Linked DNA regions of Homo sapiens: region 2 is linked to region 1. The links are contacts of gene promoters, found by promoter capture Hi-C in human tissues and cell types (Jung and others, 2019). All regions are on one chromosome and are shown on one strand. The core of a region is centred on a gene start or on the middle of the fragment in contact, and the rest is flanking DNA. Distances in the headings are between cores, read along the strand shown.

Region 1 (2,812 bases), core at 305-2,804:
TGAAATCCACCAAATTTAAAGTCCTAAGGATTATGCAGGTGTGTATACCAAGGGGTAGGGTCATGGGCGTCCATTTTAGAATTCTGCCTGCCACAACAGGGGTTTAGCAATTATCAGTGAGTTCTAATTAAGAGAAACTTGTCAATAATGAGATTTCTAGTAGGTAAAGTTTTATTTTATGAGAAAAAAATCTAGCTATTGTTTTAATATGCACATTTACATATTGTGAACCCTCATGAATACATATTTACTGGCATGCAAATGATTCATTTGGTTTATAATTTAACATTGTATTGAGAACAAGCCAAAGTTTAATAATTAATGGAGGGAGATGGGAAAGTGGAGTGCATTCTTGAATCCATTTTTTAATTACAAAAAGAGCTCTGCTTCTGCATATATTAATTTAAGATTAAGACCTTCCACCAGTTTGTTAGTTATTGCTTCCTTTTTTTCATCTTTGGCTGAAAGGACCACATTCCAGGTACGGACTTGCTGGTTTTCCCCTCTTAGAAAGGATTACTAATTAAATTGCCTCTTAAAGTAATAGACTTTGCTGATTTAACCTTGGCAGGCAATTGCCTGTTCTCAGTGTTGCCTGGAAAAATGATTTCTCTGGATGAGAATGCTAATCTTTATTCTGATTCTGTTTTTTTTTTTTAACCATCTTCAGTTTATAGTCCAGTGTTTGTTTTCATTGAAGAAGACGGTGACAATAGTGTAAGACACGACTGTCCTCTGAAGCCTATTTCAGTTCACAGTGTATATTCACAGATGAAGAAACAAAATGTAGGTAATACATTTTGTGCCACTGATTTATGTATTTATTGATCTGTCGCCCAGGCTGGAGTGCAGTGGCACGATCCCAGTTCACTGCAGCCTCTAACCACTGGGCTCAAGCAATCCTCCTGCCTCGGCCTCCCAAAGTCCTGGGACAGGACACGCCTGGCACAGGGTTGTGCCACCACACCCGGCCTGCCACTTAGTATTTTGTCAGAAGGATCAATGCTTCAAAAATTTGTTTTTGAAAGAAACAGACCCTTAGAGAAATGGCTTGAATTAGTCTTGAATTAGTCATTTTCCCCACTTTCAGACACTAGGAAAAGTTCTTTCTTCCTTAACAGTTTGTTGAGGTTTCTCAATACTGAAGTCACAACCAAACCACATGGGGTTATCGCATGGAGTCCTGGTTGTATCATCCCAAGTGGCAAGAAAGAAAGAGGTCCTGCGGTCCTCCCGAAGGTGGACGAAGTCTGTGATCCCCTCACGTTCTAACCTCACTGCTGTACGAAGGGGCGTTGACTCGTCTCCACTCCTTCCCTCTCCGGTAAAGAGGGAAAGGAGTTGGGTTGGCAAATCGGTTACAAGAGAAAGGGAAAGGCACTGGGAGAAGGCGGAGCGGGGGCGGCCTGGAGCGCTGATCGGGCGCCGAAACGCCGGGAGTCGGGGGCTAAGGGCTCGAGCCAGGAGGCCCCGGAGCAGCAGCCGCCCGCTCCTCACGCCGCCGCCGCCGCCCCCGCGGTTGCCTGGACACGGGATAACCGACTTGGGGCCTCGACCGCAGCAGAGCCGGAGGGGTGGGCAGGCGCGGGTCCGGGAGACGCGCGGGGAAACGCGCGGAGCCGGTGAGTCGGGGGCGCTTGTGCCTCGGCGCGGGCGCTTGTGCCTCGGCGCGGGGCGCTGCCGGGCGGCGCCCACTCCCCCTGGCCGCCCGCCTGCGCGACTCCCGCGGGAGAACCAAATGCAATTCCCTGGCCACCCTGAGGGAGTTAGAGTCGACTAGTTCTTCACCCCTTCCAGAGGCGGTGGGGAGTCCTTGCCCCGCGCGTTTGAAAACAATTCCCCAAATCCCCAGTCCCATAATTCCCCAGTCCCCCAGTCGTTTTGTCCCCCTGTTCTCCGTCCTCCAGTTTCCCAGTCCTCCAACCCCTGTCCCCAGTCCCCCAGTCCCCCAGTCCCCCAGTCCCCCAGTCCCCCAGTCCCCCAGTCCCCACTGCCGGGGGAAGGGAAGCAGAGTCTCCCTCCGCTGGCCGCCTAGAGGAACTTCGTCTTGTCTGTAACTGCGTCTCTAGCGTCTTATTCCTTTAAAATAATTATTTCAACTTTTATTTTGCTTATAAGGCCGCCTTGTGGTGGCTCATGTATTATTCCTTTGAACTGTTATTGATTTCTTTTCTTGATATTTAATTTTTTAAGTGTCTGCTCAATCAAGTCAAATACTGAACAACTTCCTGGCGGAGAGGCTGAGAATTTTATACTTGCTTGCTCGAAAGCACCCCAAATAAGATGATCCACGCCAACACCTCCCCTTTACAGGTGAGAAAAGTGATATTCAGAGCTGATTTGTGATTTGACAAAAGTCAGATCCAGCAATCTTCAAACTCAGGAATATAAGAATCTCCCGATTGCCAATTCAAAGCATTTTCTATTATTGTTTTCTTGACATTCATCCACTGCTCAATAAATATTTGTGAATTGACTTGGTAGCTTATCACTCCTATTTATCATTGGATAATCTGTTGTGTATTGATTGCTCTGGGCATCTTGACCCAAATACAGCATTCTTGACATCTCCCTCCTACCCTCAAAATATTGTTTCTTGGTCCTGCTGTAGTAATAGGTTTTAGAACACCACTTACCAAGTTTAAGAACTCAGAGACATGACTAGTTGTAAGACAAATCCAAGAATCCAGAGGATTTTCAGCTATTTATGTTCAATTGTTATTTAGACATTCGTACAGAAACTAGTGTATTTCTATCTTGAATATATAATACTTCTTACTTTACTGTTGCAGTCATAAAGTTTTATTATAAA
Region 2 (2,742 bases), core at 108-2,607, 150 kb after region 1:
GAAACAAAGTCATCAAAAAATGAATTACATTCTCTATCAAAAATGGTGAGTTTTTCATATTAGAAATAAAAAATACTGATTTTTGTTTTGAGTTATAAATAGTAAACTTTTTTGTCAATAATTAAATAGCAATTGGCCAATTTTTTTATATTTAGCCAATTTGCCTGTATTAGTTTTCTATTGCTGCATAACAAATTACCACAAATTTAGCAGCTTGAAACAGGACCCATTTATTATCTCAACCTTTTCGTAAGTCAGAAGTCTGGGCACAGCATGGCTCAAGTGGTTGCTCTGCCCCAGGTCTGGCAAGACTAAAATCAGGGTGTCAGTAGCCTGGCACTTCTGTCTGGAGACTCCAGGATAACACTATTTTTAGTATACAGGTATCAAAATATCACACTAGACCCCCTATAAAATGTACAATTATTGTGTGTCAATTAAAACAAAAACTGAAGAAAAACTTCAGACAAAAACTTCTTCGGTTTCTGTTTCAATTGACACATAATAATTGTACATTTTTATAAGGGGTCTAGTGTAATATTTTGATACCTGTATACAATGTGTAATGATCAAATTAGGGTAACATTCAGCATTCTTTGTTTTGGTAACATTCAAAATCGCCCTCTTTCGAGGATTTTGAAAATCCTCGTGGAAAATACAGAATGAATTATTATTAACTAGAGTCACTCTACAGTGCTAAAGAACACTAAAACTTACTTCTCTATTAAGCTATAATTTTTTATCTCTTATCCAACCTCTCTCTATGTCCCTACCCCCTACCCTTCCTAGTCTCTAGTTATCACTGTTCTACTCTCTGCTTCTGTGAGATCAACCTGTTTAGCTTCCATGTATGAATGAGAACATATGGTATTCATTTTTCTGTGCTAGGCTTATTTCACTTGACATAATACCCTCCTGTTCCATCCATGTTGCTGCAAATAACAGGAATTCATTCCTTTTTATTGCTGAATAGTATTCCATTGTGCATCACATTTTCTTATCTACTCATCCATTGATGGAAGCAGGTTGATTTCATATCTTAGGTTTTGTGAATTATGCCACAGTAAACATGAAGGTGTAGATATCTCTTTGACATACTGATTCCTTTTTCTTTGGATATATAACCAGCAGTGGGATTGTTGGATCATATGTAATTCTTTTCTTAGTGGTTTTTTTTTTTTTGAGGAATCTCCATACTGCTGTGATCTCCACTCCACAGTGGCTGTGTTCATTTATAGTCCCAACAACAACGTTTAAGAGTACCTTTTCTCTGCATCTTCAACAGCATTTGTTATTTTTTGTCTTTTTGATAGTACCCATTCTAACTGGGGTGTGCAGTTTTGACATGATTTAATTCTTATGGTTTGAGAACTGAAGCCTTTGTTTCCTTGGCACCTGTCAGCCTGAGATCACACTCAGTTTTCAGAGGCTGCCGCATTCCCTGGCTGTTTGTTCTCTTCATCTCTAAAATCAGCAGTGGTGTGCTCCTGCTTGGAAGCATCTGACCTTTCATTATGACTCATCTTTCCTGAAGATGAAGCTTTCTTTTTCTGCCATATCTCATTCACTGTTGTATAAGAACATAATAGATAAAATAAATAATAGTATAGTAAAAGGAAATAATATATAAATTATTATGCCAATTTGCATTCCTACCTAGAGTTAAAGACATTCTTCTCTACAATAAGGCTTTTTAATTGTACCTCATTATGGTTTGTTATTAGTTATTAATGGAACTGAACATATTTTAATGACTTTTGCAGGGTGATTTGTATTTCCTTTTCTGTGAAAACCTGCTCATGATTTTCCTGCTATATACTGAGTGTCATCTCACTGATTTGTAAGAATTTATATATCATGGATACTAAATATTTTCTAGTTACAAATGTTAAAAATATATTTACCCAACCTTTTTTCATTTCTTTATGGTAACTTCTGATGAAGAGACGTTTCAGTTTAATGTAGTATCAGGTATAAATACATTCCTTTGTGCATTTTCCTTTTGTGAACTTGTTTAAGAAATTTTCCCACCCCTGAGATTATAAAAATATTTTCTGTTATTTCATTCTCAATGTTTCTGAATTCTGCTTTTAATATTTATGTGATAGTTTTAGATGAAACTATGTTTAGAATGTTCAAAATTTAGGGTTGTTTTTCTCGCTCTGCCTTCTATTTACAAATTTGGAAATAAAAAGCTATTTCTACAATTTTTGGAATGCATGTTTCACTTGCCAGATGTGATGCATAATTAATAAGAAATTAATGTATGGGTGTAATGTGAAGTGAGTTTCCAGTTACTTTTTTTATAATATAGAAAACAAGTTGTTACAATACAATTTACTGATGAGTTTTCTTTATATATTTATAATCAGTGCTATCTCTGTCCCATATTAGGCTTTTATGTTTGTGTGGATCTTTTTCCATTCACTTTTTACTTTGATCTATTTGACCATCTTCACCTGAACACTCCATGGCTACGTCACGAAAATTCCATAATGGGTGTTAATTATCTATTATAGTGAATCCTCTGATCTTATATTTTCTTTTGAGTTCTAGGCTTTTCTTGATTCTTGCCCTTCCATATAGGTTTCAGGATTATCTGGTTCATTTATTTAAAATTTTTTGTTAGAATTATGATTGAAACTGTATCCACTTATGGAATAATTGGGGAAGAAATCAAATCTGTATGATAGGGACTTCTAAACATACCCATGATCTATCTCTGTTTATTTGAGTTGTTTT

The links. The method cuts DNA at HindIII sites, captures the fragments that hold promoters and counts their contacts. A contact is called where the count stands out against the background at its distance.
Region 2: a fragment that was not itself captured here is called in contact with the fragment with the promoter of CCDC178 in region 1 in 2 of the 25 tissues and cell types used here (dorsolateral prefrontal cortex and lymphoblastoid cells).

The regions. Positions count from the first base shown.
Region 1 is chr18:33,439,463-33,442,274 of GRCh38, reverse strand. It overlaps CCDC178 (coiled-coil domain containing 178), which reads left to right and starts at 1,554. Exons shown (of 23, transcript NM_001105528.4): 1 at 1,554-1,622; 2 at 2,194-2,313. The HindIII fragment of the contact is 6,939 bases long and covers 1-2,812 here.
Region 2 is chr18:33,290,462-33,293,203 of GRCh38, reverse strand. It overlaps CCDC178 (coiled-coil domain containing 178), which reads left to right. Exons shown (of 23, transcript NM_001105528.4): 12 at 1-45. Among named protein-coding and RNA genes, the nearest start is that of CCDC178, 150 kb to the left of the region's middle. The HindIII fragment of the contact is 7,615 bases long and covers 1-2,742 here.